Linked DNA regions of Homo sapiens: regions 1, 2, 3, 5, 6 and 7 are each linked to region 4. The links are contacts of gene promoters, found by promoter capture Hi-C in blood cells and fetal thymus (Javierre and others, 2016). All regions are on one chromosome and are shown on one strand. Each heading gives the region's core, a stretch centred on a gene start or on the middle of the fragment in contact. The rest is flanking DNA. Distances are from core to core; before and after follow the strand shown. Region 1 overlaps LOC100129098. Region 2 overlaps ATP6V1H (ATPase H+ transporting V1 subunit H). Region 3 overlaps LOC105375841 (a long non-coding RNA gene). Region 4 holds the start of MRPL15 (mitochondrial ribosomal protein L15). Region 5 overlaps ATP6V1H (ATPase H+ transporting V1 subunit H). Region 6 has its middle 9.3 kb from the start of ATP6V1H. Region 7 overlaps ATP6V1H (ATPase H+ transporting V1 subunit H).

Region 1 (3,046 bases), core at 256-2,755, 330 kb after region 4:
GTTCCAGGTAATACTGAAACGCGATCCGCAGGCTTTTAAATCCCTCAGTCCTCAGAAGTTATTTCTGTGAACTGATGGATATGGACGGACTGATAGAAGAAAATTAGTAGACACCAGCAAAATGGAAGGAGCAATTTTATAGCTGCCCCCTATATAGTGGATTTTTCTGCTTTTTAAAATAAATATTTGTTTGGACGTTTGAATACAATAGTAAGGATCAGAGGTGCACACATGCGCACCAAGAATATTGACCTGAAAAAGCTTACTGAGATAACAGGAAGGAAAAATAGAAAATAAAAATTTAGGTTTGTAGTTTCAATAACGAGACTGTGGATATAGAAAACATTATTGTTTTATTCATTTAAAAATAATTTTAAAAATGTAAATGATGCACACGCTTACAACAACTCAAACAACATTGCAGACGGGCTTGTAATATAAACAGAGTTGTCAGAAGTTTCCATCTCTCCCCAGCCCCAGTGCCACAGGTCAGAATCAATTCCTTTTTTCTTCCCCCTACTGGGCATTACCTACATTAATAATTCTGCTTGTCTAGTGGTTAATTAATTAATGTACCTGCATGGCTAATTTTAGGCTTATGAGTTTTAGACATTTACTTTCTGCTACGACAGCTAAGAATTTCCTGCCCGCTCTTCCTCGGAATATAGTTACATCCTTATTTCCACTTCTGTTAATTGTCTTTTAAAGTCCAGGACTACATACCCTTTTCTAGTTCCATCGCGAAGGCGGGAAGTCTCGATTCCTCACTGGGAAAGGTGAGGACATGGATGCCTCCACCCTTCCCTGAAGCACTCCTCTCCTCTTCTGCGGAGGTGGATTTTTAAAAACAGATTGGGGTTGGGGTGGGGGAGGGACAGCACGCAGAATATTGATGCAAACGTCATATGAAAAAAAATACATATAATATATATGTATGTATACCTGCAAAGTGCTGTTACATATACGTGTGTATATTAACAGCATTATGAATCCCAGACAATTGGGGCCGCTTACCGCCGTGGCTGTGACTTTAAATTCACTCACTTCTTACATCCACTAGGAAAAGAGGATTTGTTTCCCTAAAGCCTATAAAAGGGGAAAGGCTTAGGCGCAGTGGCAGCCCCGTTCCCCGCACCCTCCTGCCCTCGGGTCCCGGGCGGGCTGCGGGAGTTCCTCCTGCGCGGGCGTCTGAGGCGCTAGAGGTCACCGGAGCGCGCTCCCCTCGCCAGGGACCTACACTCTTCCCGCTGCTACATTAGGCCGCATTAACAAGGATCTGGATTCACTTTAATTTAAAAGGTAAAAGATCTTAGGTCTGATGGGGGAGTGCGGCGAGGAGAGCTCGGACCGCGACGTCGCGCGCCCGCTTCGAGGAGTTTTGAGCTCTTAGCTTGGTGCCGGGGCCCGCCCGGCGCTAGATGAAGTGCTCGTTTACTCGGCCTAAGCCACGGTGACTCGAAGGTGAGAATGCAACTTCGCGGTGCACCGGCTCAGGGGCCTGCCTGCCGCGCCAAGGCTTCGGAAGTTCTCAGCGGGACCGCTGGGACAGGCTTTCCTCTGAGGGAAGAGGAGGGGATTTGTGCCTCTGCACGTTCTTTCCTGTGGAGGGGAAAATCAAACCCTGTAGCCGTCCGCTGCCGGGTAGGGATCGGGCGATGCTCGGCGCCCGAGTTCTCCGCCGTTGAGGTGGAGCCCGGCGGCGGGAGCTTAGATTCTCTGTGGGCCACATGGTCTCAGAAGAGGCCCCGCGGCCCGGGGGCGCCCGCAGTGTCGCTGGACCGGCGGCAGCGCTGGCCACGCCGTGGGCTGGGACTGGCCCGGAACGCGGGTGGCGGTTCGGCCTCGGAGACCCGCGCAGCCGTCGGAGCATCTCCGTGCCTCGCTCACCACCTTCTTTTCCTCCGCGTCCGGCGGAGGGTTTCGGCGCGCGGGGCAGGCCTGGAGCGCCGTGAGCAGGCCGGATGCGGGATACGCCAGTGACTACCAGAGCCAGACCCGGAGCGCGCTGCCGGCGGTGACGGCTAGGCTGGGCCCCTGTCCTTGGGCCGAGTTGCCGAGCTCCCTCGGGGACTTGAAGGTGAAGGGCGAGGCGCCGGCCGGGGCCGCGGGCCGAGCCAAGGGCGAGTCTCGCATCCGGCGCCTTCCAGGTGGGGCGAAGGTCGAGCGCCAGAGGCTGGCGAGGGACCCCCGCCCAGCTTGACGCCCAGCTGCGCCCGACGCCGGGGGAGGCGGAGCGCGGGGAACCCGGGCGCCGGGAACCCCGGACGTGGGAGGGCTGGGCTTCTGCGCGGGGAGACGCCGGGCTTGGCGAACATCCTCAAGAACCGGTCGGTGGCTCTACCTCCGAAAACTCTTTCGTGTTTAGCGATTCTCATATTTAGTGTTTCCCTTTAGGGAGACTTGACCGGCAATTGCAGACTCGTCTTGGGAGCTGGAGATGACATTAAATAAAAAGTTCAAAACCAAATTGTTAATTATCTCCAGGTATAAACGATAACACAAAATTTTGCAGTCTTGGGAGAAAGGTTTTAATGTGCCGCCTAATTAGGCCAGGTTCTGCAAAAACGAAACAGCTCTATTCCAAGTTAAAAAGTATGCCCCTATTCCAAGTTAAAAGAAAAAAAAGTTGTATTCCTTGTTCATTTATTGAGTAAGGAATTGAGAGATGGGTGCTGAGTTATTACAGATTCTAACTGCTCGCCACACATGGAGCTAGAAATACATTTAACAGCCTTTCAGGAAAACGCCTAAAGCTTTAGAATTTCAAGCTAGCCAGGTTGCAATCTAGAGCTCTAGTTTGTTGCTGAAGTTTGGGAGAGGATGGCCTCTACCTGTGCACACATCGAGTTAATTTTCCAGAGTCTTTTGAAGTTAATAGGGAGCGGCTTTTCTGTTTGTTTATTTTTTGACAGGGTATCCTTCTGTCGCCCAAGCTGGAGTGCAGTGGTGCATCGCAGCTCACTGCAACCTGGACCTCCTGGGCCCAAGCGATCCTCCTGCCTCTGTCTCCCAAAGTGCTGGGATTATAGGCATGTGCCACCGCGCC
Region 2 (2,741 bases), core at 92-2,591, 310 kb before region 4:
TTGAGAAGGTTACAGGGAACCAGGCACTCACACCCTGCTGATGAAAATGCAAAATGGAATGTCTGGCAATATCTTAACAAAAAAAACTACATATGGAGTTACCTCTTATCCAGCAATCCCATTTCTAAGAATTTACCATGAAATATACACCCAACAACACAAAAATATATTTGCACAAGGTTATTCTTTGCTTCATGATTTCTAATTCTAAAATTTGGAACCAACCACAATGTCCATCATTACATCAGAGGCTGAGTGAACTATGGTACATCCACTAATGGGGTACCATGTAGCTGTCAAAAACAGAACAGGGAGATGAGATCTCTATGAACTGACACGTAATGATTTCTGGCATATTCTGTTAAGTGAAACAAGCAAAAAATAAGAGATTATATCTAATAAGTGTTTTATAGAAATAAGAGGGGGAAATAAAAAAATATACATGTGTCTGCCTGTCTATGTTCACAGAAAAAAAAAATTAAAAACCAATGATATTGGGCTGAGCGCAGTGGCTCACACTTGTAATCCCAGCACTTTGGGAGGCCGAGGCAGGCAGATCACTTAAGGTCAGGAGTTCAAGACCACCTTCGCCAACATGGTAAAACCCCGTCTCTACTAAAAAAAAAAATATAAAAATTAGCCAGGAATGATGCCGGGTGCCTGTATCCCAGTTACTCTGGAGGCAGAGGCAGGAGAATTGCTTGAACCCAGGAGGCAGAGGTTGCGGTGAGCGGGGGTTGCACCACTGCACTCCAGCCTGGAGGACAGAACGGAATTCTGTCTCAAAAAAAAAAAAAACTATGATATTGGTCACCTACGAGAGGGAGGTGGGAATGGGCTAGGATTAGTGACATTTCTCTGAGTATACCTTTCTGCATAGTTTTGACTTTTGGAAACATGTTAATGTTTTACATACTCAAAAATAAAATGCAGGCTGGGCATGGTGGCTCACTCCTGTAATCCCAGCACTTTGGGAGGCCGAGGTGGGCAGATCACCTAAGGTCAGGAGTTTTGAGACCAGCCTGGCCAACATGGTGAAACCTCGTCTCTACTAAAAACACAAAAATTAGCCAGGCATGGTGACAGGCACCTGTAATCCCAGTTTCTCGGGAGGCTGAGGCAGGAGAATCACTTGAACCCAGGGGGCAGAGGTTGCAGCGAGCCGAGATCACGCCACTACACTCCAGCATGGGTAACAGAGCAAGATCCTGTCTCAAAAAAATAAATAAAATAAAAATAATAATAATGAAATGCACAAGGATGAGGAAAAAACTAAAATAGAATACAACAGAAACAAATGACTCTTACAGTATTTCATGAAAAATAATCACTCTGAAACTTGAACACAGTATTCTGACTATATACCCTGAGTTTAAAACAAAAAACTGCAAACAAATACTGAACTCCAGGTAAAAGACTTGTTTTTTGTGTGTATGTGTTTTTTTCAACTCGTATTTTAGGTTCAGGGGTACATGTGCCGGTGTGTTATATTGGTAAACTCATGTCAAGGGGGTATGTTGTACAGATTATTTCATAATCCAGGTACTAAGCCTAGTACCCAATAGTTATTTTTTTCTGATCCTCTCTCTCCCCCCACCCTCCACCCTTGAGTAGACCCCAGCTTCTGCAGTTCCCCTCTTTGTGTCCATGTGTTCTCATCATTTAGCTCCCACTTATAATTGAAAACATGTGGTATTTGGTGTTCAGTTCCTGTGTTAGTTTACTAAGGATAAAGACCTCCAGCTCCATCCATGTTCCTGCAAAGGACATGCTCTCATTCTGTTTTATGGCCGTATAGTATTCCATGGAGTATATGTACGTTTTCTTTATCCAATCTGCCATTGATGGGCATTTAGATTGATTCCATGTCTTTGCTAATGTGAATGGCGCTGCAACGAACAAACACGTGTGTGTGGTCTTTACAGTAGGACGATTTCTATTCCTTTGAGTATCTACCCAACAATGGGATTGCTGGGTCAAATGGTAGTTCTGTTTTTAGCTCTTTGAAGAATCACCACACTGCTTTCCTCGATAATTGAGTTGTATGGGTCCACAACTCTGAAACTATTTTCTGTGTATTTTAGGGTAGAACAAACAAGTAAACACACTGAGGATAAGAGGAACTCACAATCTCACTGTTACAGAAGAGGTACACATACGGAAAGGAGAGACAAAGAACCCTGTGGTGCTGCGCTGAAATGTAATGGGAGCTACCAGCATGTCATGGTGTTAATTTATAGATATGAGCATATGGACAGTAATTAAGGATATGAGCAACCACGGTCCGCATGCCGACTCACAGCTCCCTCATTCTAGGTACAGTCCCATACAGTAACAAGATAACCATGGCAGATCATAACATTCACATTTTTCTAAACTTTACTGTTTTACATGAAAAAGTGCTCAGAGAGACTGAGGTCATTCTCAAGACAGTCCTGATATTGATCCTTCCTCACATTATAAAATCACTAGATTCCTATAAAGGACATGATGACCCCTAGGAAGACAGCACCATTCTGCCCAACCTTTGTATTATCAATAATAGTACAGTGCTTGGTGAAAATTAGGCCATCAATAAATGTTTTTTTCCTTATAAGTTAATAGAACAACCCTCCCTAAACACCCAGACTGACTCTTTCCTTCAAGTCTCCTGAGACACTCAGCAGCTGGAAGGCCGATCTCATAAGAACTGCTCTACATACCAACCATCTAAGCCTAGATTATACTCTAGTGTAAAATAC
Region 3 (3,076 bases), core at 24-2,523, 300 kb after region 4:
ATTTTAGTTCTATATAAATAGGGTAATCCAGGGAAATCAGAAATGCAGAGTGTGTTTATAAGCACATGTGAATAATTACAATAGCAGACACACAATTTTAAATTCAAATTTGTTGTTGTTTTTTGTTGGTTTTGTTTCTTGTTTGGGAACCACAAAATAAGCCTGTCTTTCTTTGGATCTTAAAATTTATTCACAATGTTTTCATGTTTTATATTAGGAATTATCTGGTTCTACAGAAGTAGAGAATTCCATTCCTACGGGAATATCAGAAGGAGGTTAAAGTGGGCACAGGTAAATCATCCATTTGGCTATCAAAAAGTCTGATTCTGACCAGGCGCAGTGGCTCACGCCTATAATCCCACCACTTTGACAGGCCGAGGCGGGCAGATGACCTGATGTCAGGAGTCGAGACCAGCCTGGCCAAGATGGTGAAGCCCCGTCTCTACTAAAAATACAAAAATTAGCTGGGCGTGGAGGCGGGCACCTGTAATCCCAGCTACTTGGGAGGCTGAGGCAGGAGAATCACTTGAATCCGGGAGGCGGAGGTTGCAGTGAGAGGAGATTGCGCCACTGCACTCCAGCCCGGGCGACAGAGTGAGACTCCGTCTCAAAAAAAAAAAAAAAAAAAAAAAAAAAAAGGCTGACTCTTTTTTCTGGTCCCAAATAAAAATGACTAACTTCTTCAAAATATAGGGTAATAAAATACCCTGAAATGAGTAAAAGTTATTCATTCTGACTATAATACACTTTGTTTTGGTAGAAAAAAAATCTTCATAAATTTAAAAACTGAATAATAAGCCCTTGGTTAATCATTTAACATTAGAACTCCTATTTTCTCTTCTAGCAAATGTTTCCAAACAGAAAAACGACCACAATCAATTTTAGAAAACATGTTTCCCCTTTGAGGAAGGAAGGACAAATAAGATGTTTAAACTGCAGTTGGTAAAATCATTTGCTAACCCTCTGCGTGGTAATGATGCCACATCACCTGCACTTTGCTGTCTTGATCCATGCTGAAGTGATATGTTCTTGGACCCAAGCAGAACTCTCTAGCGATTTGCATGTTTTGTCATATTGTCACAGACACTCATGGTTAAATAAAAACAATCTGGTTAGTATAAAGCTCAATTTGCAGAGAAATAACTATTCTCTGTGTCAGAGTCCACAGGCACCAGAAGAAAACATTTTCACACAGAACATGGCTATGTGCCTTTTAAATCCATTTGCAAAATTGTTTCATTTCTTATGTAAAAAGGTGGAATATTGACTACTGATAAAAATTTCCTCCTACACAAATATTTTTCAGGTTCATCCAATCCCACCCTTACTCAATATAGTGGAACATGAAGCTAAATTCATCTGGAATACTTCACTAACTCCCAAAATGAACAAGGGAGTGGAAAGTTGATAAAAAATACTAGCCCATACATAATCAGGGAAACAAGGGTTGTATGTTAAGTGGATTTTCTTCCATCCGTGTGATTACCTGAATGTCATTTTTAACTTGGGTAACTTAAGGTAAACTTATCTCTCTAAGTTCATCAATATTCCTGCACAAACCTTCATTGCCATTTAATTTTAATAAAACTGAGAAAGAGAGAGTGAAAACTCATGTTACCCATTCCAGGCAGGAAGATGGGAAGAAAGGAAGCATGCCATTCAGAATTCTGAATTGATTTGTACAATGTCTTAGGCAAAAGCTCTTCCAGAAATATCTATGAATTCACGTTGAACATAAGACACAAAATTACAGATAAAGGTTAAAATCAAACTTGTCAGATGTTAACATTATCCTGACTACTCATAAATTGATTCATTTATGTGCTAGAACATTTTTCTACTACCCACCCTGGAGGAGGAGAGAATCCATTTACTGGGAATGTGGAATGTGCTTCGTCCGGGAGGGGAGGGGAAAGAAAGAATCTTGACTGGTGCTATGTAAAGTGGCTGCACCTTTCAACCAGTTTTCAATTTCAAACAAGACTTTTAATATCTATGTCTTTTGATTGTTTCTGACTTTTAATTTTTGAAATAACTGCTTTATTAAGATATAATTTAGATACCAATTTCCTCATCTAACGTGTACAGTTCACTGATTTCTTGGTATATTCAGACTTGTGTAATCATCACCATAATCAAGTTTATAACATTTTCATCACCCCAAAAAGAACCACACACCTTTTAGCCATCACCCCTCAACGCTTTTTTTTATCCTTTAGCCCTAAGCAACTCATAAGTCTACAGATTTGCCTATTTTGAACATTTCATATAAATGGAATCAGGCAATTTGTGGTCCTTTGTGATGGGCTTCTTTCAGTTAGCATAATGTTTTTAAGGTTTCGTGTTTAAATAATTTTTTAAAATTTGGGAATCTTTTCAAATTTACAAAAGAGTGGCTAAAAAACATTGTACGGAAAACCTCCATTTATCCCTTATCTAGATTCATGGTATTGTTAATCATGTTTCTAAAGGTTTTTAATGTCTGTTGTTATAGCAATAAAACATTCAAAATGGTTATATTTATAAAAGAGTGGTCTGCAAATGCTTATAAATAATTTGGATTGTCATTTGGAACATTCTGAAAATGACATGGAACTCAGGGCTATGAAAATCCACTGGTAGATGTGTAGTTGATGTAGGCAGATTGAATTTCCATATGTGCCTGGCATTATTAACCATACAGTCATACAGTCGTGTACCACAGGAACCTTTAGTCAACGACAGACTTCATATATGACTGCAGCCCCATAAGATGATAATGCCATATTTTTACAGTATTTTTCCTGTGTTTAGATATGCATAGTTACACAAATACATTTGTGCATGTAATACTACATTATAATTGCCTACAGTATTCAGTACAGTAACATGCTAGGCAGCCAGGAGCAATAGGTTATACCACATAGACTAGGTGTGTAGTAGGTGACACCATCTAGGTTTGTGTAAGTGCACTTTAGGATGTTTTCACAAAGACCAAATCGCCTAAGGAAGCATTTCTCGGAACACATCCCCATTGTTAAGTGACAGAAGACCATACAAGAAAACTCAAGATTCTCACAATCAAAATGAACATGTA
Region 4 (3,018 bases), core at 187-2,686:
GCAGGGGGATCACCTGAGGCCAGGAGTTGGAGACCAGCCTGGCCAACATGGCGAAAACCCGTCTCTACTAAACATACAAAAAAAAATTAGCGGGGCGTGCTGGTGAACGCCTGTAATCCCAGCTACTCAGGAGGCGGAGGCGGAAGAATTGCTTGAACCAGAGAGGCAGAGGTTGCAGTGAGCTGAGATTGAACCATTGCACTCTAGCCTAAGCAACAGAGCGAGACTCTGTCTCAAAATAATAATAATAATAATTCACTTTTGGAAACTGTTCCCTACTAGATTTCAAACAACTTGGGAATGAAATCCTATTTGAGTTCATCCATGTGTATTTCCAACAAGTTCAGTGTCTTACTTATAAATAGTACTTGAAGGAATGAATACAACTTTTTCTTTATGTAGTTATTTTACACTTGATTTAAAGGAACTTTAAAAAGACGCAGTTATACCTAGAGACAGACGCCCTCCAAAAATTGTCTCACCTTCATTATTTGTGATTACTAGTTAGAGCTAGCAGAAAAAACTCCCCAGCAAGTGAAATGTCAAACCACTACTAAAAGAAAGAAAAAGAAAGGAACAGTCTTTTCTATATTTAAGTCACTTGAGAGAAAAAAGAAGAGCTGGTATTTTTCGAGTAATAATGTTCGTATTTTGTGATGCAGATACTCAATTTTACATTCTAAAAATACTACTTTTATAGTAGGAAGCAGTGTACGTTTGAATCCTGGCTCTGCCGCTTGTTGCAAGAAGTTGGTCAAGCTATCGGACCTTGCTAAGCCTTCCCTGTTGTAACTGTAAAATGTAGTAACACCATTTACCTCTAGAATGGCTGTAAATCGAGTAAGGCTTATTTAATACAGCGTCTGGCATACACCAGGCATTCAGTATGGCGCCAGTCATTAACAATAGGTGGTTACTAACTGCGATTCACTCAAAACAATACAGATGCACACGGATGAGAGTTCACACTTTGAGTCTTATTCAAAGATTGGTTATTAGCCAGGCATTTTGATAGGTGCACTCAGTTTTATTTTCGTACCTCACGGTGTATAATTACGCAAGCTCAAAAGCTAATAATTGACAGCTCACTTTGCTTTACTCTGGGTTCTGCATTGACCTCAGAGAAGACACGGCCTAGACAAACAGGCAAGGCCCAACACTGACTCAAAAAAGATCCTTTATTTAACGCAGTGTTTTTAGTGCATGCTCTCGTTTGGCGAAAGAGAAGGTTTTACGTTCAGAATATTAAAAGGGACCCCGAGGACAAAGCAGGATCTCGGAAAATAAGATCACATCCCCAAACAACTAAAAGGACAACCGAGACAAGGTTGCAGACTCCCACGCCTCTGCCCGACTCCCGGGCTTGCGCGCGCGGCTGCAGCGCGACAGGGGCGGGGCCACGGCCACAAAGCAGCCCCCGAGACCACGTGGCCTCCGAGCAGCTCAGGGCGCCCTTGAAAGTTCTTGGATCTGCGGGTTATGGCCGGTCCCTTGCAGGGCGGTGGGGCCCGGGCCCTGGACCTACTCCGGGGCCTGCCGCGTGTGAGCCTGGCCAACTTAAAGCCGAATCCCGGCTCCAAGAAACCGGTAAATGGGTGGTGGCGGTGCGGGGAAGCGCTGGGGACCCGGGCGATGAAAGCGGCCCTTCTCTCCCTGTCATTAGGAGAACTGCCCTTTCTAGGAGAGTGTTGGGATGAAAATAGGATTGCCTCATGCCTGTTCTCCCTTACTGCCCAGAGGGGAATCTTTCCACGTGCACCCAGTTCTTTTTTTTTTTTTTTTTTTTTTTTCCGAGACGGAGGCTTGCTCTGTCGCCCAGAAGCAATTCTCCTGCCTCAGCCTCCCGATTAGCTGGGATTACAGGCGCCCGCCATCACGCCCGGCTAATTTTTGTATTTTTAGTAGAGACGTGGTTTCACCGTGTTGGCCAGGCTGGTTTTGAACTCCTGAGCTCGCGATCCGCCTGCCTCGGCCTCCCAAAGTGCTGGGATTACAGGCGTGAGCCACCGCCCCCGGCCGCACCCAGTTCTTAATAAGGTTATGTTTACAAGTGTAAAGATACCAGGCGGAGAAGCCGACTCGCTGAAACTACAAAGTCTTTGTGTCATTCAAAATTGGATTTAAAATGAAATGTTTTCCCGGTGTATCTTTATGTTCATTGGAAAGATCTGAATTGCAGCTGTCCCTTCTGCAGTTGACTAAATAGAGCTAGAAAAGCTGTTAGTTGACAATGTACTGTCATTTTAACAGTCAGTTCATTGCTTTCGTGAAATGACAGGAAATTAAGGAAAAGATTTTCTTCAACAGATCAGTTTTCAAATAAAATTACAGGTTTATGAATAACATTTGCATATTTACAATTAATTTCAGAATAAATTCTTGCCTATCATTTAAAATGTTGTGAATATTTAATTCTAGGATTTTTTTCGGTTTCAACCTATTATAAAAACCTTATCCCCATCCTAACCTTTACTTTTTGCTTTTGAAACACACTTGGACTTTGGTTACAAGAATTAGCTATGTCTTTAGAGGCAAAGATGCTAACAGAGTGTGTGGAGCTTTGAGCAACTAGGACATGCTTGACACAATAGTGTTAGCTAGCACTGGTGGGCTGGATGAATGAACAGCATAACAAAAAGTGAAGAGCTGAAATGCAGTTTTTAGAAATGCATCTGAAATTCATAAAATTCTTTTTTTTCCTTGCAGGAGAGAAGACCAAGAGGTCGGAGAAGAGGTAGAAAATGTGGCAGAGGCCATAAAGGAGAAAGGCAAAGAGGAACCCGGCCCCGCTTGGGCTTTGAGGGAGGCCAGACTCCATTTTACATCCGAATCCCAAAATACGGGTTTAACGAAGGACATAGGTAAGGTTGCTTTGCTTTTTAAAGTACAGGTCCCCAATTTCCATTAAAAAGCACCTAAAAATAGTTTGGTAGAAATTTTGGTGGAAATTGTAAATTCACTTTGAAGCAAACTTTTGCTACTGTTCCCCTGAACCATTTTTTGGTAATGAAATCTTGC
Region 5 (2,700 bases), core at 152-2,651, 420 kb before region 4:
TCCAATGACAGTAAGACGTGGTTCTCTCCCTAAAGCACCAATGTCAAGGACCAACTTCTAAATGTAAGTTTCCAAAAATGACTAATAAGAATGTATGGGAAAGCCTCCAGGAGCTCAGGCAGGGAACTGGTAAGTTATCACAAAGGGTCCTGTGCGTCTGGTCACAGACAGGCTCCCACCTGCTCCATCCCTTCCAGAGGCCTGAGGGTAGTTCATTCCCCATATCAGACTTCACTAATACTTAGCAGACAACAAGTGGTGAAGATAATTGATTTCTTCACAAAAGAAACACTCTTGAAGTGGGGCCAAAGTAGGACAGTAAAACCTAGCACAGGTGCGCTGTTCCAGCAGAGAACGTAAAGACACATGCAGCCACAGCTTCCACCCTACCATCTTCCATTCATTTTTTTCTTCCTGGTCAAAGATATAAATTACAGGTAACATCCTCTCCTACACAATTTTTTTTTTTTTTTTTTTTTTGAGACAGGGTTTTGCTCCATTGCCCAGGCTGGAGTGCAGTGGTGCAGTCACAGCTCACTGCAGCCTTGACCTCCCTGGGTTCAAGCCATCCTCCCACCCCAGCCTCTTGAGAAGCTGGAACTACAGGTGCTCACCACCATGCCTGGCTAATTTTTGTATATTTTGTACAGACAGGGTTTCGTCATGTTGTCCAGGCTGGACGCTAACTCCTGGGCTTTAGTGATATGCCTGCCTCAGCCCCTAAAGTGCTGGGGTTACAGGCGTGAGCCACCATACCCGGCCAGGCTCACTCTCGTTTATTCGTACATACAAGGTAGCCCGGAGGCATCTACTTCTTCCTGACCTAAGTACGTGACACATAGAAAAATCAGCACCTCCTTTCTTCTGCCTAGTTGACAGTTCATGTAATTTGGATTTGGGGGAAGAACAAGGACTCATATAGATGAAAAAGGGTCCAACTAAGAACCTGCACATCAGGGGCCCCAGGTGGAACTTTGTGAGCCTGGTTTGAGTATTGTAGGTCAAAATGCCAAAAGCCCAGCAAGAGAAGAGCCCAGACAGGATTCATGGAAAGAAGAATACAATTTCCTCCTCAAGCTTTCTTGAAATTGTTGTTTGTTATGGCATGTGGGGTGTTAGATGGCTTTCTAACATACCAGGAGGAACTGAACTGTGGCTCCACTGAAAAGGGTATTAAAAACACCTAACCTATACGAACTTTGGGGAAAATCCACTCCTTCGAACTTGGCTTTTATGTATTTTATTCTATTTTTATTTTTTTAGAGACTGAGTCTCACTTTATTGCCCAGGCTGGAGTGCAATGGTGTGATCTCAGCTCACTGCAATCTCCACCTCCCAGATTCAAGTGATTCTCCTGCCTTGGCCCCCCGAGTAGCTGGGATTACAGGCACGCACCACCACGCTCGGCTAATTTTTGTATTTTCAGTAGAGATGGGGTTCTGCCATGTTGGCCAGGCTGGTCTCGAACTCCTGACCTCGTGATCTGCCTGCCTTGGCCTCCCAAAGTGCTAGGATCACTGCACCTGGCCAGCTTATAAAATACTATAGCTTGCTCCCCTGAATGTCGAATGACATTATGTAGTCAATGAAAACATTCCCAAGACTGGGGGACACAAGCCTGCCTCTGAATCCTCTGTGCCAGGCACAGGGGGTCCTGCCATCGAGGGCCTGAAGCTGGGAACACAGGATGGCTGTTGCCATCTGGACCGCGTTCCGAGCCACCATGGAAGCTTTATCACAGGTATGCCCACACATTCTCCCCTCTCATTTTAGAGCACCCTGTGAGCTGGGTATTATTAATATCTTCTCCCTTTTACAAAAGAGGAAACAGGGCCTCAGAAAACTTCATTAACTTGCCCAAGAGCTAAGTGAGCAAAGCGCCTACTCAGGGCTCTGGTCCTATTCTATTCCAGAGCTGCCTGGCTTCCAGTAAGAGCTCAGAAAGGTGCAGAAGGCAGACACTTCCTTTTTCATAAATTAGAAAACAACAAGTGGGTGTGAAAAATTTCTTCAGGTTAAAATTACACTACTGTCAGGCAAAAGCAAAAACTAGTATAGATTTTACCTCAGGGGATAATAATATATCTAGAACAAAGGATGCAAGGAGATCTTTTGTGAATTAATCTGGGTATTGAGTCATCCTCAATACATGAAGATCAATACAATAAAATTTCAACTTATAATTCAGTCAAAAGGTGCCTGACTTATACAAGCAATCTATAGGAATGTGACATTAAATCTTTGCTTCTGCCACCTAAGATGCAAAATTTGTGAGGTGCAATATTTTTCTTCTCTTTAACTTCATCCACACCTGAAATCTCCTGGGATCTCAACATCTCTGAAACTGAAAAAAGGGCAGTCTGAAAACCTACTCCCCTTTTTAAAAACCCAAGTACATAAACGGCTCACAAAAGAGATCATACTGCTGCAAAAGAGTTTACATCTGATGAAGAAACACTGAAAAACTGACTTCCACTTCCCACAAGGCACAAGGTGCCTGAGGCTTGACAGGGGCATTCTGAAGGTGACTGACTATCTAGCTTCTATTCTGCTAGGAGCTAGGGCACCAGGAAGCACTTACTTAGCTATAGTAACTCTTCAAACAACAGGAAGACCATTACCCATTCTAATCAAATGCCTTACCTTCACAGTGTATTTAGTTGCTTAAAGACTCAAACATTACAAATGTTTCTTTAAAAC
Region 6 (2,901 bases), core at 209-2,708, 280 kb before region 4:
CCCCAGTAATACACATCCCTTACCTTTGTGCACCCTCAAACCCAACAGAAGCTATTGGGCATTAGTTGCCTCTTGACAGAAAGGTATTCTACCTTTTCCACTCTGTTTAATAATCTTATATTTATAAAGCAGTTTATAAATATGAAGTATAGTGTTAGAAGCCAATTCTTGGCTTACTCATTGGGTACCTAGTCATCTCATAAGAAAATCAATTTAACTTACTCCACATGATGTATGTAAAAAGAATAATAATTCTTGAGTTTAAGTTTGGGTATGAGTTTTGCATATGTTACTAGCTACAAAGATGACTGCTATTAAGATGACCTTTTAAGAAACCTGGAAAGATTAAGCCAACCATCTGCCTGTCAATTGCATAGCCCAAGATTGTCAAGTACTATTGGCTATCACACACCACTAACACAAGAATTTTTGCCAAACAATCTATTTAATTTATCACTATATGCTAAGCTGTATATCACTTGGATCATTTCTTTCCATTTTGATTTAGGATTACATTTTAATTAAGAATACATTTCTGCCTTTAGAGGGCACTCATAACATACAGTACCTAGACATTCAAAATAAGCAGCTCTACCAGGAATAGAACATGAAAGATCTGTGGATAAGCTGCTGATCCACAAAGCAGGTAATCCTTTTGCTTTCATTAGTATAACTTTTGGAGAAGTCTCCCCACAGATTCAGAGCCAGCCCAGCATTAACCAAACAAAGAGAAGCAGAGTGGATCCTGTGCTAATATTGGGAAAACCAGGCAACAGGACTCATTTGGGGCCTTTATTGTGAAAACATGCCCCAGCTTTCCCAAGATAACCAAGAGTGCCTCCAGAAACATTTCTCCAGGCCGTCTATATGGACACAGTTTCTGCCCCTGTTCAGGGCTCAGAGATATAATACAGACATTCACCAAATCACAGAAAATGAAGGAGACCTCAGGGCTGTTCCTGATATCAAGGTAAGGTGATTTCCACAATCCATGATCCTTTCCCGTCAAGGGAAAGTGTTTACCCAGAAAGAATATAAAACTATACTCAAGCTTTAGTGCCATTGCTCACTTATCTTAATGTTTTATCAAAAATGTTTTCAAACCATCCCCAAGGGAAATCTAGAACCTAGATGATAATTACCTGATCTATCTAGTTTTCTCCAATCTAAACAGATTCCCTTTACCAAAATAAATTATTATGTATTGCTTTTTTGTTTGTTTGCTTGTTTCAGGTGATAACATTCAACAAATCTAGACAGATTTTGTGGCTATTAGTGTTAGCCCTAGGATATCTTTCTCCGATATAAATATTACATCCCATATAATAATGAAAGAAAAATTATAGACCGCTTTCTACAAAAAATTCCTTGGGAAAAAATTGATAAACTAAGAACATAAGAACATTAAGGAGCTGAGGGGTGTTTTTTCCAAATTCAAAGTTTCCAAAGGTGAATTTCCTAAGCATGAGTTTCTATCAGTAGGTAATAACATTATTTCTCCAAAAAGTGACAATTTTCCTGCTGGATGTTGTGTGTATATTTGAAAAAAATACAGTTTGAGTCTGTAAATCCTCTTAGCTATTAATAGAACCATCTCATAAAAGGTTACTTGGCATAGAATATGGACATGTGTTAATGTCTAACAAGCAATGAGCACACTCAAAATTAAATGCTGCAAAACTATAAAACTGTTCAAATACTTTAACACCAGAAAATTCACCTGTTCTTTTGCCGCGGCTCATATCCTGATATCATTATTTATTTGCAAATTCTTTACAAAATTCTCTAGGTCTGCCCTTTCTCCTAATGTTATTTTAACCATTTGGCACAAGTGGAGGGGAAAAAAAAAATAAAAAGGGTCAACACAAAGCTTTTTCTGTAAAAATATACGGACCTGTTCTTTTGAGCTTTCAGACATATGTGAACAAATAACACATGAATTCCCACACCGCCTATTATCATCTAAGCACTAAGAGTTTAGCAAGCTGCAATGAAATGGGATGTAGTGTCCAAGAGTCCTGAATTAATGGACATCTTAATGTAGGCGACACATGCAAAAGATATTTCTAAAAGGCAGAATGTGGAGGCTACTTTGAGGAAACAGAGAGCAACAACAACAAATATACCCATTGTATGGTGCATATGTATGCTGTTGTATATGTGTGTATGTATATGCACCCACACACACATATATATAATTTCAAAGTTCTAACTATCTTGAGAAGGTATGCTCTAAGTGGAATCAAAGACAAATAAAATGCAAAAATATTTAAGAATCAGTATTACACCTTCCCATGGCATCCTGGAATCGACCACACATGCTGGTGCTGGGCAGCCTAACTTCTATCCTAACCTCACTAACCTGTTAACAGGTTCCAGTCTGTACAGCAGCAGGTGAGGGTAGAAGGAAGCAATCCAGTTGGGATGCTACTGGCTCCTTCACTCAGTTTTTGCCTTTTGAAAAAATCTTTTTATATTGCATTTGAATACAGAAAGAGGAGACATGTGCCTCATCTAGCAAATGTAAGGATGGAAACACTCAACTCATTTTGAGTCTGCAGATACCATTGAATCCTTACTAACTGCAAAACCTTGGGCTAGGAGCCATAGGGAATAAAGAGAAAGAGCAAGATATGCTCCCTCCTTTCTAGAGACTTACTGTGTATTGAGAAAGACAAACATATAGCATATTATCAGCATGACTCATGTCAATAACATAAGATACCTACATAATTATTGTATATTCTTTCAATCAGTAAGATATTAGGGGAGGAATATGATCACTATGGGGTAAGACAATTGAAGAAGCCCAGTGTTAGAGTGAAAGCAGTGAAATCTAAGGTAGACGTGAAATAATGTCTAAGAACATATATAGAGGCAGAAAGAGGGAACGTGAGCTAA
Region 7 (2,743 bases), core at 11-2,510, 320 kb before region 4:
TGGAGGTCTGCTTTTCAAGTAGACAGCCATCTAAAAAAGTAAGAACTTCAGGAAGAGTCCAAAAATATGTTCAGGGTTGAGAGTCACTAAAGGGAAGAAGGTAGGAAACCAAAGGCCATCTTTTCCTAACTCACAATCACTCCTGATGTGAATTCCATTTGGGATGTATATGAATCTACCAGGTAAATCACTTAGACCAACACACCACCAATTCAGTTAATTTTGTTTTTCTAATACACTGCACAGAAAATAGCAAAATAAGGATGTCATGTCAGCAGAGTTTGCATTTCCTTATTTAAGCTTTAATAACTTAAAATACTTTGACAACCACTTAAATAAGTTTGTAAGTCTAAAATAAGCTAAATAATTTTTCAAACTGGTAGAAATTCAAGACACATGAAATGAAGACTCTCAATTTAAGCAAAATAAAGATTCTCAATGTAAACATCTGCTTCTGATTGAGAAACGAGGCTTCTTACCTACCATTTCCTCAGCCCACCATGGCCCCAGGATCGCGTATCTAGTTCTATACCTTGTTCTGATTCCACTTCAGAAGGCTAATAGCCATTTTCTGGCCTAACATATGAGTCATCAAACACTTCAACCCATGCTCCAAGAGAAGCCCAGCTTCAAAATGGATTTTGCTGCCATCTATGGTCTTGGAACATACATACCCGTGACATTCATTCAGATTATGGGAGTACCAGCAACCAATATGGATATTAAATGGCTCCTACAGAGCTTCACTTGGGTCTATTGCAGGCAGGTTACAGAAACTACCCTCTAAAGATACTTCCTAGTTTCCTAGTGATACTTTCAACAAAGGAAGCTAGACACACTTCTGTTTCTGTCTCCGTTTTCCCTAACTTTCTATCAACTGGCTCTCATCATGAACATCGTTAACTTGTCCAAACTTACTTCCAGTTCCTGAGCTATTCCTAGAGCACAGCAAAGTTCAGCCATTCCCAAATGGAAAACGTAACTTTAGCCAAGAAAGGAACTTGGGGAGCCATAATTAATCTTAATTATGTAGATTATTTATGTATTTATGTAGAGCCTTTTGGCTCTACAAAAATGTGGAAAGAAGGCCTGGCGTGGTGGCTCATGCCTGTAATCCCAGCACTTTGGGAGGCCAAGGCAGGCGGATCACGAGGTCAAGAGATCGACACCATTCTGGCCAACTTGGTGAAACCTCATCTCTACTAAAAATACAAAAATTAGCTGGGTGTGGTGGCGGGCGCTTGTAGTCCCAGCTACTCGGGAGGCTGAGGCAGGAGAATTAATTGAACCTGGGAGGCAGAGGTTGCAGTGAGCTGAGATTGTGCCACTGCACTCCAGCCTGGGGGATAGAGCTAGACTGTGTCTCAAAAAATAAATAAATAAATAAAAGTAACTGAATTTCTTTCAAATGTTTGACGCTTTTGTTCACCTTTTGATTAGACAGATATTAGACAGTTTAATCAGATAACTGAAGTTTAAAGAGAAAACTTTATGATTATTTGCTCCAGTTGTGCTTCTGAATTCTGATTTTTGCTTTGTTTCTCAGGTCTGAAACAAAAGTCACCTGGAAAAAAGAGCAACGGGAAAGAACAAGTCTTATGTCTACCACAGAAAAGATGATCTCCACAGACCATCAATATTTATATATAGTTTATAATACAATTAACCTAACTGGAGGTGACCATGGATTTATAGTTGGGGAACTAGTAAACACCTTCAAAATTTTAAGTGTATATGACTCAAAATAATTTATTTTGGGGATGTTTAGGCCAGTGAAGGAATATACTTACATCACTTGAAGAGACTGTTCCTGTTTCAACAGCAACACCGCTACCACGCAGTTTCTATTACGAAATAAATAACTCATTATTTAGTTTTGTTTTGATTTTATCCTAATGTATCAGCTTACAAAAGGGAGCTAAGCAAACTTTTCCCCTAATTCTATGTAATAATTTTTCCCCTATAATTTTATTCCTAATCCTACTAAATAAAAAGCAAGGGGATGACATAAAATGTTCTAAATATCGTTACATTCTTCCAGATAATATATTAATCAGTAAGTAGCTAAAAATGGAACAATAATAAACTGACTACTAAGCTCCAGGTAAATTTCATGGGTAAAGCTAGTGCAAATTTCCAAGTCTTAAGATTTACTTACTGAATTGTTTTTCCAGTAAAATGACTGCCTTAAATTGAACTATCCACACTATATTCTGTAGCAAAGCTTTCAAAAATAGGTGCCTGATGTCAGGAAGGTACAATATGTGACTTGGTTATCCACAGCAAAGCTAATGAATTATAATGACAATCAAAATCTCAAATGTCATATAGAAATGACCAAAGAAAATTTAAAGAAAGTCAGAGGCTGAAAGTGCAAGAGAAAAGCAATAATGAATTTCTGAAAGGAAATGTTAACTTTGTATCATTCAATAACTACTATCTATGAAGTACAGGCATGAGTCCCCACAACCCAAGTGCAACGCTCCAAACTACCCAAAAAGGCTTCAAAGGCCACTATAAGGTCAAAGAACAAAACATCTAAACTTGCAGCTAACTTGGACTTTTGAAAGTTTATTTCTATTAGAATCATGAAATTGTGGTACTTTTTGTGAGAGAGAAAAACACTTGTGACAGAGAAAAAAGAGACACTCTAGATGTAGCACTATCGCATGACAATTGAGCAAAGTAGCAAGTAATATCACAAATAATTGTTACTTTTTAAAACGAAGAGTCTGAATTTTAA

The links. Contacts are between HindIII fragments. The CHiCAGO score rates a contact against its expected background, and 5 or more counts as called.
Region 1: a fragment that was not itself captured here is called in contact with the fragment with the promoter of MRPL15 in region 4 in 2 of 17 cell types (megakaryocytes and endothelial precursors); the score reaches 7.2 in megakaryocytes.
Region 2: a contact is called between a fragment that was not itself captured here and the fragment with the promoter of MRPL15 in region 4, in 3 of 17 cell types (naive CD8 T cells, neutrophils and fetal thymus). The highest score is 6.8, in naive CD8 T cells.
Region 3: a fragment that was not itself captured here is called in contact with the fragment with the promoter of MRPL15 in region 4 in 4 of 17 cell types (M1 macrophages, M0 macrophages, M2 macrophages and 1 more); the score reaches 7.4 in M1 macrophages.
Region 5: a fragment that was not itself captured here is called in contact with the fragment with the promoter of MRPL15 in region 4 in 1 of 17 cell types (activated CD4 T cells); the score reaches 6.1 in activated CD4 T cells.
Region 6: a fragment that was not itself captured here is called in contact with the fragment with the promoter of MRPL15 in region 4 in 13 of 17 cell types (endothelial precursors, megakaryocytes, activated CD4 T cells and 10 more); the score reaches 10.2 in endothelial precursors.
Region 7: a fragment that was not itself captured here is called in contact with the fragment with the promoter of MRPL15 in region 4 in 2 of 17 cell types (naive CD8 T cells and non-activated CD4 T cells); the score reaches 6.3 in naive CD8 T cells.

Annotation. Positions count from the first base shown.
Region 1 is chr8:54,465,260-54,468,305 of GRCh38, forward strand. LOC100129098 reads right to left here. Exons shown (of 2, transcript XM_041680557.1): 2 at 335-2,283. The coding sequence ends at 1,529. Among named protein-coding and RNA genes, the nearest start is that of SOX17, 8.8 kb to the left of the region's middle. The HindIII fragment of the contact is 2,492 bases long and covers 260-2,751 here.
Region 2 is chr8:53,826,168-53,828,908 of GRCh38, forward strand. The region is part of intron 4 of ATP6V1H (ATPase H+ transporting V1 subunit H); the gene reads right to left. Among named protein-coding and RNA genes, the nearest start is that of ATP6V1H, 16 kb to the right of the region's middle. The HindIII fragment of the contact is 3,324 bases long and covers 1-2,741 here.
Region 3 is chr8:54,437,010-54,440,085 of GRCh38, forward strand. The region is part of intron 1 of LOC105375841 (a long non-coding RNA gene); the gene reads right to left. Among named protein-coding and RNA genes, the nearest start is that of SOX17, 19 kb to the right of the region's middle. The HindIII fragment of the contact is 4,847 bases long and covers 1-3,076 here.
Region 4 is chr8:54,133,805-54,136,822 of GRCh38, forward strand. MRPL15 (mitochondrial ribosomal protein L15) reads left to right here and starts at 1,437. Exons shown (of 5, transcript NM_014175.4): 1 at 1,437-1,587; 2 at 2,707-2,861. The coding sequence starts at 1,480. The HindIII fragment of the contact is 13,913 bases long and covers 1-3,018 here.
Region 5 is chr8:53,717,927-53,720,626 of GRCh38, forward strand. All of the region lies in intron 13 of ATP6V1H (ATPase H+ transporting V1 subunit H), which reads right to left. Among named protein-coding and RNA genes, the nearest start is that of ATP6V1H, 120 kb to the right of the region's middle. The HindIII fragment of the contact is 653 bases long and covers 1,076-1,728 here.
Region 6 is chr8:53,851,095-53,853,995 of GRCh38, forward strand. It overlaps a transcript of RGS20 not described here. Among named protein-coding and RNA genes, the nearest start is that of ATP6V1H, 9.3 kb to the left of the region's middle. The HindIII fragment of the contact is 819 bases long and covers 1,050-1,868 here.
Region 7 is chr8:53,809,374-53,812,116 of GRCh38, forward strand. It overlaps ATP6V1H (ATPase H+ transporting V1 subunit H), which reads right to left. Exons shown (of 14, transcript NM_015941.4): 7 at 1,791-1,844. Among named protein-coding and RNA genes, the nearest start is that of ATP6V1H, 32 kb to the right of the region's middle. The HindIII fragment of the contact is 1,924 bases long and covers 299-2,222 here.